3 separate regions of the Homo sapiens genome follow, and all the other regions are linked to region 3. The links are contacts of gene promoters, found by promoter capture Hi-C in blood cells and fetal thymus (Javierre and others, 2016). All regions are on one chromosome and are shown on one strand. Each heading gives the region's core, a stretch centred on a gene start or on the middle of the fragment in contact. The rest is flanking DNA. Distances are from core to core; before and after follow the strand shown.

Evidence for each region. Contacts are between HindIII fragments. The CHiCAGO score rates a contact against its expected background, and 5 or more counts as called.
Region 1: a contact is called between a fragment that was not itself captured here and the fragment with the promoter of SPR in region 3, in 1 of 17 cell types (fetal thymus). The highest score is 6.4, in fetal thymus.
Region 2: a contact is called between a fragment that was not itself captured here and the fragment with the promoter of SPR in region 3, in 3 of 17 cell types (fetal thymus, endothelial precursors and naive B cells). The highest score is 8.3, in fetal thymus.

What each region holds. Positions count from the first base shown.
Region 1 is chr2:73,116,428-73,120,674 of GRCh38, forward strand. No RefSeq gene overlaps it. Among named protein-coding and RNA genes, the nearest start is that of RAB11FIP5, 5.6 kb to the left of the region's middle. The HindIII fragment of the contact is 1,524 bases long and covers 984-2,507 here.
Region 2 is chr2:73,136,814-73,141,485 of GRCh38, forward strand. No RefSeq gene overlaps it. Among named protein-coding and RNA genes, the nearest start is that of RAB11FIP5, 26 kb to the left of the region's middle. The HindIII fragment of the contact is 223 bases long and covers 1,572-1,794 here.
Region 3 is chr2:72,884,476-72,888,757 of GRCh38, forward strand. It overlaps SPR (sepiapterin reductase), which reads left to right and starts at 2,933. Exons shown (of 3, transcript NM_003124.5): 1 at 2,933-3,261; 2 at 3,839-4,129. The coding sequence starts at 2,958. RefSeq lists silencers at 2,785-3,174, 3,813-3,987. The HindIII fragment of the contact is 9,789 bases long and covers 2,503-4,282 here.

The DNA of each region.
Region 1 (4,247 bases), core at 496-2,995, 230 kb after region 3:
TTCAAGGACTTTGCAAGTGACGATATCATCACTAAACTTCAACTAACATAAATGTGTCACTCCTTCAGCGGGTCTGTTTCATCTGTTTGCCTGTTCTCCAACGTTACTGCTCCTACCTCCTCCCTCCCTCCTCCTCCGCCAAGGAGGAGCAAAGCACCAGGAAAGGGGAAAAGGTGGAGAGCACTCAGATGGCTCCTCTGCCTCACCTGCCCTCTGGCTCTCTTTCCTCCTGCCTTGGCCCTCACAGATTGGCAAGCTCAAGCTTCCTGCTGGCTCTGGACTGTGGCTGGCTATAGGAGGGGAACGAAACCAGCCAGGGCTCCCACCCCACGTTGCCTGGCCCTAGAAGGAAAAGCCAGGTCTGCTAGCTGTCTGTGGTTGAGAAAAGAGCAGAAACACCAGATACTGAGGTCTTGGCCATCTAAAGGTGTGTTTCCTCCTCTATAAGATGAGATCCCCCCCACTCCCTGCAGCAGCCTGCATAAGAGTTAGACAAGAAGACCCCAAAAGCATCAGTTTCCTCTGCCTCCCCAGGGCTGGGTGTCCTCACTGCCTTCCTGGGCCTCTCTAGTCCATTGGAGACAGTTCTTGCTTGAAAAGCATCCACCTATGTGTAGCTTCCACTCATTGCCCCCTCTTCAGTACCACTAAGCCCATTTGCTTTTCCATGTAGACACTTCACATGTATTTGTCCTGCTCTTCCAGCTACATTTCCCTCTGTTCTTCACCTCACCTTCCTGCAGCTATTTTCCAGGCCCTCTTTATAGCAGAACCACATGCCCAGGTCTAAGCCCTGGTGCCACCACTTACTAACTGTATAAGCATGGGCAAATTACTGAACCCTACTGAGTCTGTTTCCACCTCTGTAAAATGGGCCTGCTAATAAGAAATTACCTCATAGGGTTAGTATGAGAGCTATCTCAATACACCCTAAGCAGTAATGAGCATGAATTATCATCTTAGAACTCTTTGCTGAAGGCAAAAGCTTCTGCCTCCTTGTTGTTTCATTTGCATTTCTTTGATTGCCAGAGAGATTGAACTTCTTTTCAGTTATTAGTCATTTGTATTTCCTTCTTTAATGAATTGTCTATTTTCTGAATTGCCTATTTTCTATGCTTGTTTTTCTTTGAAGCCTTAATTTCTTATTATTTATACAAATGCTTTATATGTTAAGAATAGTAACATGGCCAGGCACAGTGACTCATGCCTGTAATCCCAGCACTTTAAGGGGCTGAGGAGGCAGGATTGCTTGAGTCCAGGAGTTTGAGATCAGCCTGGCCAACATGGTGAAACCCTATCTCTAAAAAAAAAAATACAAAAATTAGCTGGGTGTGGTGGCACATGCCTACTGAGGTGGGAGGATCACCTGAGCTTGGGAAGTCGAGGTTGCAACAAACTGTGATCATGTCACTGCACCTCAGCCTGGGCATCAGAATGAGGCCCTGTCTCAAAAGAAAAAGAAAAAGAAGGCCGGGCACGGTGGCTTATGCCTGTAATCCCAGCACATTGGGAGGCCGTAGGTGGGCGGATCACAAGGTCAGGAGATCGAGACCATCCTGGCTAATACGGTGAAACCCTGTCTCTACTAAAAATACGAAAAAATTAGCCGGGCGCGGTGGCGGGCGCCTGTAGTCCCAGCTACTCAGGAGGCTGAGGCAGGAGAATGGTGTGAACCCGGAAGGCGGAGCTTGCAGTGAGCCAAGATCGTGCCACTGCACTCCAGCCTGGGAGACAGCGAGACTCCATCTCAAAAAAAAAAAAAAAAAGAAAAAGAATAGTAACACTTTGTTGTTCATATTTACTGCAGGTTTTCTTTTTTTAATTTAATTTAATTTTTTTTTTGAGACAGAGCCTTGCTCTGACACCCAGACTGGAGTGCAGTGGCACAATCTCAGCTCACTGCAACCTTCACCTCTCGGGTTCAAGCGATTCTCCTGCCTCAACCTCCCCAGTAGCTAGGACTATAGTGTGCACCACCACATCCGGCTGATTTTTGTATTTTTAGTAGAAACAGGGTTTTGCCATGTTGGTTAGGCTGGTCTCAAACTCCTGACCTCAGGTGATCCACCCCCCTCAGACTACCAAAGTGTTGGGATTACAGGTTTTAGCCACTGCTCCCAGCCTGGATATGTTTTCGATATAAGACATTAGGTAGGCTGAGTGCAATGGCTTATGCCTGTAACCCTAGCACTTTGGGAGGCCGAGGCAAGAAGATTACTTGTGAGCCCAGGAGTTCTAGACCAGCCTGGACAACGTAGCAAGACCCTGTCTCTTTTTAAAAATTATTTTTAAATTAGCTAGGTGTGCTAATGCACGCCTGTAGTCCTGACCACTGAGGGGGTTGGAGTAGGTCTGAGGCAGGAGGATTGCTTGAGCCCGGGACGTCCTGGCTTCAGTGAGCCATTATCACACCACTACACTCCAGCCTGAGTGACAGAGCTCAGGCCCTGTCTAAATAAATAAATAAAATTAGATAATCAAATCTTTGAATTCTTTCCATTGTTTTAAGCTTGAGTTCTTCCAAACTTACAGGTCCAACAATATTCATTTGGATTTTTTCAAGTTTTTAAGTTGTTTGGATTTTTGTTTGTTCTTTTATTCTCTTTAAATCCTGCTAGCAACCATTTTGATGAATGATTTCAGGTAAATATCTAACCTGCTTTCCCCCAACAGCTATCCAAGTTTCCCAATATTTATTGCAAAGCCCTATCCCTTAGCCATTGGGTTTATCATATAAGTTTATATATATATTTGTAGTGAAGGGGTGGCCTGCCCCTCCACACCTGTGGGTATATCTCATCAGGTGGGACGAGAGACTGAGAAAAGAAATAAGACACAAAGTATAGAGAAAGAAAAGCGGGCCCAGGGGACTGGCGCTCAGCATACCAAGGACCTGCACCGGCACCAGTCTCTGAGTTCCCTCCGTATTTATTGATTATTATTTTCATTATCTCAGCAAGAGGAATGTGGTAGGAGAACAGGGTGATAATAGAGAGAAGGTCAGAAAAAAAACATGTGAGCTAAAGAATCTATGTCATAATTAAGTTCAAGGGGAGGTACTATGCCTGGATGTGCACGTAGGCCAGATTTATGTTTCTCTCCGCCCAAACATCTCAGTGGAGTAAAGAATAACAAAGCAGCATTGCTGCCAACATGTCTCGCCTCCCGCCATAGGGTGGTTTTTCTCCTATCTCAGAACTGAACAAATGTACAATCGGGCTTTACACCGAGACATTCAGTTCCCAGGGGCAGGCAGGAGACAGTGGCCTTCCTCTATCTCAACTGCAAGAGGCTTTCCTCTTTTACTAATCCACCTCAGCAGAGACCCTTTACGGGTGTCGGGCTGGGGGACGGTCAGGTCTTTCTCACCCACGAGGCCATATTTCAGACTATCACATGGAGAGAAACCTTAGACAATACCCAGCTTTCCAGGGCAGAGGTCCCTGCGGCTTTCCGCAATGCATTGTGCCCGTGGTTTATCGAGACTAGAGAATGGCGATGAATTTTACCAAGCATACTGCTTGTAAACATTTTGTTAACAAGGCACATCCTGCAGAGCCCTAAATCCCTTAAACCTGGATTCCATACAACACATGTTTTTGTGAGCTCAAGGTTGGGGCAAAGTGGCTGGGGCAAAGTTACAGATTAACAGCATCTCAGAGCAAAACAATTGTTCAGGGTACAAGTCAAAATGGGATTTCTTATATCTTTGCTAGGGCAATTTGGCAAAAAGAATAAATAAAATCATCTAGATTGGAAAGGAAAAGTAAAGCAATCTCTATTTGTAGACTACATGATCTTGTAAATAGAAAATCCTAAGGAGTCCACTAAAATCTGTTAGGGTGAATAAACGAGTTCAGCAAGGTTATTAGGGTACAAGATCAACACATTCAAATCAATTGTATTTCTATACACTAGCAATGAACAATTGAAAATAAAATTAAGGAAACAATTCCATTTATTTATTTATTTATTTATTTATTTATTTTTATTTATTTTTTGAGACAGAGTCTTGCACTGTCATCCAGGCTGGAGTGCAGTGGCGCTATCTCAGCTCACTGCAAGCTCCACCTCCCAGGTTCATGCCATTCTCCTGCCTCGGCCTCCCGAGTAGCTGGGACTACAGGTGCCCGCCACCACGCCTGGCTAATTTTTTGTATTTTTAGTAGAGGCGGGGTTTCACCATGTTAGCCAGGATGGTCTTGATCTCCTGACCTCGTGATCCGCCCGCCTCAGCCTCCCAATAA
Region 2 (4,672 bases), core at 433-2,932, 250 kb after region 3:
TCTGTGTCACAGTGTATATTAGTAGTTCCTTCTTTTTCATCTTTTTTAAATTATTATTATTGTAGAGATAGGGTCTCTCTATGTTGCCCAGGTTGGTCTTGAACTCCTGGGTTCAAGGGATCTTCCCACCCCAGCATCCCAAAGTGCCGGGATTATACGCATGAGCTTCCACGCCTGACCTTTTTACTAAAAAGTAGTTCCTTTTTGGCCGAGCGCGGTGGCTCACGCCTGTAATCCCAGCACTTTGGGAGGCCGAGGCACGCAGATCACGAGGTCAGGAGATCGAGACCATCCTGGCTAACACGGTGAAACCCCGTCTCTACTAAAAATACAAAAAATTAGCCCGGCGTGGCGGCGGGCGCCTGTAGTCCCAGCTACTCGGGAGGCTGAGGCAGGAGAATGACGTGAACCCGGGAGGCGGAGCTTGCAGTGAGCCGAGGTCGCGCCACTACACTCCAGCCTGGGTGACAGCGAGACTCTGTCTCAAAAAAAAAAAAAAAATTAGCCGGGCGTGGTGGCGGGCGCCTGTAATCCCAGCCACTCAGGAGGCTGAGGCAGTAGAATTGCTTGAATCCGGGAGGCAGAGGTTGCAGTGAGCCAAGATCGCGCCACTGCACTCCAGCCTGGCGACAGAGCAAGACTCCATCTCAAAAAAAAAAAAAAAAAGCAGTTCCTTTTCATTGCTGTGTTCTGTCGTGTGAATATACCACATTACCACATTTTGTTGATCCATTAACCTGTTTATGGATATTTGGACTGTTTCCTGTTTGGGGTTATTATGAATAGTGCTGCTCTGAATATTCATGTACAAGTCTTTGTGGACATATGTTTTCATTTCTTTTGGGTAGATACCTAGGAATGGTAAGTTTTTCGTTTTAACTTTTTAAGAAACTGCCAAACTGTTCTTCGAAGTGGCTGTAACATTTTACATTCTCTTTTTCTTTTCCTTTTTTCTTTTTTTTTTTTTTTTTTTTTTTTTGAGACAGGGTCTCCCTCTGTCGCCCAGGCTGAAGTGCAGTGACACAATTTCAGCTCACTGCAACCTCTGCCACCTGGGCTCAACTGATTCTCCTGCCTCAACCTCCCGAATATCTGAGACTATCATGCGCCCCCACACCCGGCTAATTTTTTTGTATTTTTAGTAGAGACATGGTTTCACCATGTGGGCCAGGCTGGTCTCAAACTCCTGACCTCAAGTGATCCACCCACCTCAGCCTCCCAAAGTGCTGGGATTACAAGCATAAGCCACTGTGCCTAGCCCATTTTACATTCTCATCAGAAATGTATGAGGTATCTGGTTTCTCCACATCCTTACCAACACTGTATTAAATATCTTTTCCCACTGAATTGCCTTGGCCAAAAATAAGTAGACCTTACATGTGAGGTCTGAGCTCTAAATTCTAGTCCATTGGCCTGTATGTCTATCCTTATGCCAATACCACATTGTTTTGATTACTGTAGCTTTGTAGTAAGTTTTGAAATCAGAAAGTGTGAGTCCTCCAGTTTTGTTATTTTCCAAGATCATTTTCACTATTCCAGATCCTTTGCATTTCCATATTAATTTTAGAATAAGCTTGTCAATTTCAGCAAAAATGGCAACCAAGATTTTGATAGGTATTGAAAGGGGAAAACAAACAGGTTTTCTATACTCAAAAACACTTCCGAAACCAAATGTCTGGGATTTTTTTCCCCGCACATCAAGCAATTCTTCAGTTCTCTGCAAACATCAACTGGGTGTCCAATGACTCAATTCAACTCTGACAGTAGCTACCTGGAGTTAGTGTGAGACCCCAAAGCTTAAGGGCTCAGTCCCACAATACTGCCCCTGACTTCAAATGCCAATCTCAAGTAATGGGTCCCCAGGTTACCCACACTTCTGTGTGACTTAGCTACAAGTGAGGGTTTCCTACAACCACCTATTCAGATTCAATAATCTGCTGTAATGGCTCGCAGAACTCAGGGAAGCACTTACATGTACGGTTTATTATAAAGGATACAACTCAGGAACAGCCAAATGGAAGAGACAGGGTATGAGGAGGGAGGGGCACAGAGCTTCCATAGCCTTTCAGGCCTCGCACCCTCCCAGCACCTTAATGTGTTCACCAACCTGGAAGATCTCCAAACCCTGTCATTTAGGGTTTTTATGGAAGTCCCATTATGTAGGCATGATTTATTAAATCATTGACCTTCTGTGACTGACATTAATCTTCAGCCCTTCTCCCCTCCCCAGAGGTCAAAGAGATGGGGCTGAAAATTCCAACCCTCTAATTACAAGGTTGGTTCCTCTGTCAACCAGCCCCCATCCTCCAAGAGTCACCTCATTAGCATAAACCCAGGTATGGTTGAAAGGGGCTTATTATGAATAACCAAAGGTGTTCCTCTCACCCCTATCACTCAGGGGAATCACAAGACTTTTAGCAGCTCTGTGCTAGGAACCCGGGGAAGAGACCAAATATATATTTCTTGTTATGTCACAGGATTGCATTAAATTTGCAGATCCATTTGGGCAATATTACAATATTGCTATCTTAACAATAATAGTTTATCTGTTTTGTTTTGTTTTTAGAGATGGGTCTTGCTATGTTGCCCAGGCTGGCTCAAGCAATCCTCCTGCCTTGGCCTCTCTAAGTGCTGAGATTACAGGCGACAACAGTAGTTTGTTGTTGTTTCTATATACAGGATCACGTCATCTGTGGGAAAAAAAGACAGTTTTACTTCTTTTCCAATGTTGATGCCTTTATTCTTATTTTTTGGCCTTATCACACTGACTTGAATCTCCAGGACAATGTTGATTGAAAGTGGCAAGAGCTGACATTCTTGCCTTGTTCCTGATCTCAAGGAGAAACATTCAGTCTTGCATCATTATATGTAATGTTGATGGTAGGTTTCAGTTAGATATGCTTTATCAAGTTAAGAGAGCTCCCTTTTATTCCAAGTTCAAGGGTTTTTTTTTAACCATCAATGGATGTTGGATTTTGTCAAATGTTTTTTCTGCATCTGTTGAGATCATATGATTTTGTCCTTTATTTTATTAATACAGTGATTCATCTTAATTGGTTTTCAGATGTTAACTCAACCTTGCTTTCCTGGGATAAAGCCCACTTGGTCATGGTATACGCTTCTATGTATGTGTTGCTGGGTTTTATTTGCTAATTTTGTGCTAAGGATTTTTACATCTGTGTTCAAAAAGGATGTTGGTCTGTAGCTTTCTTTTCATATGATATCTTTGTCTTGAATCAGGGTAATACTGGCCTCACAGAATGAGTTCGGAAGTGTACTTTCTTCCCCTATTTTCTGAAATAATTTGTGAAAGATTGGTATTATGTGTTTTTAAATTATTTGATAGAATTCACTAGTAAAGTGTTCTGTGACTGGGTTTTTCTTTGTGGGGAGATTTTAAGTACTAATCCCATTATTTACTTGCTATAGGCCTATTCAGACTTTATTTCTTCTTGAGTCAGTTTTAATAATCTGTATCTTTCTGGGAATTTGTCCATTTCATCCAAATTGTTCAATTTGTAATATTTCCTTGTAATTATTTTTGTTTCTGTGTGGTCAGTAGTGATTTTGTAATTTATGTTTTCTCTTTCTCTTGGTCAGTCTAGCTAAAAATTTCTCAATTTTGTTAACCTTTTCAAAAAACAGACCTTTTGTTTTATTGATTTTTCTCTATCATTTTTCTGTTTTCTATTTTTTTTTTTTTTTTTTTTTTGAGACAGAGTTTCACTCCTCTTGCCCAGGCTGGAGTGCAATGGTTCAATGGTGCGATCTCAGCTCACTGCAACCTCTGCCTCCCAGGTTCAAGTGATTCTCCTGCCTCAGCCTCCTGAGTGGCTGGGATTACAGGCATGCGCCACTACATCTGGATAATTTTGTATTTTTAGTAGAGACTGGGTTTCTCCATGTTGGTCAGGCTGGTCTCGAACTCCCGACCTCAGGTGATCCACCCGCCTCGGCCCTCCAAAGTGCTGGGATTACAGGTGTGAGCCACTGCGCCCGGACTTCTGTTTTCTATTTCTTATTTCCACTCTAATCTTTATTTTCTTTCTGCTGTTTGCTTCAGATTTAATTGTTCCTTCTTTTTCCAGTTGCTTAAAGTAGAAGCTTAGATTGTTGATATGAGACCATTCTTCTTTTCTAATCTAGGTATTTATAGCTATACAGTTCCCTTAAATGCTGCATTTGCCGCATCCCATACATTTTGATACGTTGCATTTTCTTTTTCATTTAGTTCAAAAGATATTTAATAATTTTCCTTGTGATTTCTTCTTTGATCCATGGATAATGTAAAAATATGCTAATTTCCAAATATTTGGGGATTTCCCAAATTTCTAGATACTCACAACCCACTATCAATGTAATATTGTCCAGAATTTTAATTTGGGATTCTTATGGGTTTGCTTTCCCTTTGTCTTTGGTCTTAAGTCTGCTGCTGTTCCTGCTGTTGTTGTTTAGACAACAGAATATGTTACCAATGTATTTAATCACCTTTATTTAAATATTTCTTGCAAAGTCTCCTAGGTTTTTCTTCTTGAGTATTTCCTCCAAAATGTTTTTAACTTTTTTTAATTGTAAAATGTTTCTAGAAAAGCAGAAAAGATAGTACAATGAACATCAATACATCCCTCCACCTAGATATAACAATTGTCAACATCTTTAAAACAATTTGTTT
Region 3 (4,282 bases), core at 1,683-4,182:
CGCATCTTACATGGCAGCAGGCAAGAGAGAGCTTGTGTAGGGGAACTCTCACTTATAAAACCATCAGATCTCATGAGACTTATTCACTATCATGAGAAGAGTATGGGAAAGACCCGCCCCCATGATTCAATTAACCTTCCACTGGGTCTCTCCCATGACACATGGGAATTGTAACACATGGGAAATATAATTCAAGATGAGATTTGGATGGGGACACAGCCAAATCATATAACCTGCCAATATTTATTATCTGTCTGTTTTATTTTAGCCATCTTAATGGATATGAAGTGGTATCTTATCGTAATTTTGATTTGTATTTCCCTGATGGCAAATTATGTTGAATATCTTTCTATGTGCTTATTGACCATTTGTGTAATTTCTTTGGATAAATGTCTGTTCATATACTTTGCTCACTTTTTCATTTTACTTTTGACTTATAAGTATGGCTTTTTTTTTTTTTTTTTTTTGAGGTGGAGTCTTGCTCTGTCACGCAGGCTGGAGTGCAGTTGTGAGATATTGGCTCACTGCAACTTCTGCCTCCTGGGTTCAAGCAATTCTCCTGCCTGAGCCTCCTGAGTAGCTGGGACTACAGGTATACGCCACCACGCTCAGCTAATTTTCATATTTTTAGTAGAGACAGGCTTTCACCATGTTGGCCAGGCTGGTCTTGAACTCCTGACCTCAGGTGATCCACCTGCCTCAGCCTCCCAAAGTATGACTCATTTCAAAAACTTTGTTATTTAGAAATAATTTCAGACTTTTACAAAGTTGCAAGAATAGTATAAAGAATTCCTGAATACTTTTAATGCAGATTTCCTAAATGTTAACATTTTACCTTTGCCTTATTCATTCTAATTTTTTTCTGAAACATTTGAAAGTAAGTTGCAGATATGATGCCCCTTTACTAAATACTTCTGTGTACTTCCAAAAACAAGAACACTCTCTGATATAACAATAGTTCACTGGTCAAAGTCAGGAAATGATTCAATGCCAATAACTAACCTACAGACCTTATTCAAATTTCACCCATTCCCCTACCCATGTCCTTTATCAGGCTTATGTTTTTAACACAATTTTTACACATTTCTTACCTTTCAGGCATTTGTATCTTTTTAAAAGAGTTACTGTTGGCCAGGTGGGGTGGCTCACACCTATAATCCCTGCACTTTGGGAGGCTGAGATGGGAGAACTGCTTGAGTCCAGTTCAAGACCACACTGGGCAACACAGCAAGAGCCATCTCTATAAAAAAACACAAAAATTAGCGAGAGCAGATAATCATCTTCCTCAGAAAAGAAGAATTTTCCAGACCCTCTCCTAGTATAGGAAAACCACGTTCTCCTTAGGGGCTGTTCCCAAGTGGTTCCTCCTAGAAGCAGCTAGGTTCAGAAGAGTCTAGGTCTGATTTTTTGCCATCCCTTCATTGTTCCCTCCTTTTCTTCAAAAATCTGGCAAATGGTAGAAATTTAACAAATGTCAAATGAATGGATGGATGGGATCGTGCTTTCATCAACCTGTCTTCTAAGGCCTGGAGAGCAGGGAGAAGCTATTAAAATTCTTTAAATAGTAAGCTGTTGGGCCAATGAGATCTTTATCTTCAGTGTGAATAGGTAAGTGAAAAGCAGGGCAACTTCAAATGGTATACACATATACAGAGTCTTATCAGCGTTAAAATACCAAAAGCTTAAAAAACAATTAGCCAGGCGTGGTGGTGCGCACCTGTAATCCTAGCTACTCAGGAGCCTGAGGTGGAAGGATTGCTTGAGCCCAAGAATTCAAGGCTGCAGTAAACTGTGATCACACCTCTGCACTTCAGTTTGGGCCACAGAGCGAGACTCTGTCAAAAAAAAGAAAAAAGAAAAGAAAAAAGCCTTCCTCCAAGTTGTTTCTTCCTTAGAGTTGGCAATAATAGTGGAAAGGCGGTAACTTTGCTGTTTAGCCCCAGGGGAGGGATCAGCCCTGTGGGGAATTGGGCTAAGTTATCAGAGGTTACTTACTGCCCTTGCTAAACTCTAAAGAGATTCGTTTTTTAAAAACTGACACACAATATTTGGACATATGTATATACACAATGGAATACCACTCGGCCACTAAGAAGGAAACCATGAAGAGATTCCTTTTTAATATATGTAGCTGCATGCCAACTTGTCTCACGTTCCTCCTCTCCTAGAAAAAAAAAAATGTGGATTTTTCTGAAGCACCTGCCTGGAGGTACAGACAGATGATTGCGCAAACTTGAAGCTGAAAGTGGATGGAATTGCTGCCAGGGAGACTGTAGCATGAGCAGGAGCAGAATCCTGGGGAACACACTTTTAGGGACAGGAGTCAGAAATCTCAGAGAAGCAGGGGTTACTGGTGGGATCACGGAGCTGCTCAGGGCCTAGTAAAAGGGAAAGGTTTTAATATCATTTGGAGCCACTGTGGTTCTCCCAGAGGAAGCTCCTGTCATCCAGAGAGCGGTGAGCTCCCAAACAAGCAGAGACTTCAATTCCTAAACAGGCATAAGCTTCATTCAGGGTGTTCACTGGCCACGACCAGGGACGCCCAGCACCCAGTGCAGGGCCTGCCCTGGAAGAGGTCAGTAGTGCAAAGTTAGGGCTGGAACTGGGAGGAAATTCGAGCATGCGTCCCAGCCGGAGGCTGAGCTTGCGGGCGAAGAACACGGCAGCGCTGGGAACCGGGCTAGGGCTTTCCGTGTGGGCCGCGCCTGCCGGCCCTCTCTGTTGTCCCACTTGGCACGGACTGGGCTACCGCCACGGTTTGACTTCCGCCACCAGCAACCAAGGGAACCAGATCCCAAGGGAACCAGCACCCCTGGGCGCTCGCGGCCCGAAGCCTGAGGTTCCCGCCCCGCCCCGGCAGGGCGGCCCCGCCGACACCCGTAGCGGTCCCGCCCCCCGCGGCCGCACCGCCTCCTGCCTGGTCTCGGGTGCCAGCGCCGCCGGCGGAGAACAGGAGCATGGAGGGCGGGCTGGGGCGTGCTGTGTGCTTGCTGACCGGGGCCTCCCGCGGCTTCGGCCGGACGCTGGCCCCGCTCCTGGCCTCGCTGCTGTCGCCCGGCTCCGTGCTTGTCCTTAGCGCCCGCAACGACGAGGCACTGCGCCAGCTGGAGGCCGAGCTGGGCGCCGAGCGGTCTGGCCTGCGCGTGGTGCGGGTGCCCGCCGACCTGGGCGCCGAGGCCGGCTTGCAGCAGCTGCTCGGCGCCCTGCGCGAGCTCCCCCGGCCCAAGGGGCTGCAGCGACTGCTGCTTATCAACAACGCGGGTAAGACCCCGGGGCTGGAGCGGACTCCCCATGTGAGCGCCCACTTCCTCCACCGCTGGGGAATTTAAGGGCTACTCCTAGGGGTCAGATAGGACGCCTAGAAATCTAAAGCCCTAGTTGTTCCAGCTTGAGTAGCAAGTGGAGGCGAGGTGTACAGGAAGACTCGGTGCCGTCGGGACAACAGTCTGCCCCCACTTCCTGGAAAATTGGCCAGCCGGGTTTTCCAAAGCGCCTGTAGAACTTTCCCGAGCCCCTTGCTCTGCGCCCTCTGGCGGAGGCCTGAGTCAGGGCTTGGAGTCTCCAAACAAGTAAACTCTCTGCTTCTCCAAAGGACCGCTAGAGCTTTCCTTCAGCCCCACGGCAAGGCAGGTGCCTTCTCATTCTGCAGCTTGGGATGGCTAGGTTCCCCAGCTGTGTCTTTCCGCAGAGCTGGGGAAGAGAGAAGCCTCTTCAGAAGCGCTAGGCAGCTTCCTCCTCTAGGTCTGCATGGGAAGAGGATATCTGGAGGAACTTGGGAGGGCTGGGGAAGAAGAAAGCCCCGCCTGCACTGAGTTACTCCTAAGGGTTGGTTTTTCAGGCTCTCTTGGGGATGTGTCCAAAGGCTTCGTGGACCTGAGTGACTCCACTCAAGTGAACAACTACTGGGCACTGAACTTGACCTCCATGCTCTGCCTGACTTCCAGCGTCCTGAAGGCCTTCCCGGACAGTCCTGGCCTCAACAGAACCGTGGTTAACATCTCGTCCCTCTGTGCCCTGCAACCTTTCAAAGGCTGGGCGCTGTACTGTGCAGGAAAGGCTGCTCGTGATATGCTGTTCCAGGTCCTGGCGCTGGAGGAACCTAATGTGAGGGTGCTGAACTATGCCCCAGGTAGGTGGGAAGTCCTGCCGTCCCTGTCCTCCAGAACCCACTGGTGCGCCTCTGGGGGCTGGGCAAGCGGCCTAGTCCGCCCCCTCCAGGAAACAACCCACAGGATTTTGTCCTTGAATCTTGACCCATCACCCCTTAGGGGAAATACAGACC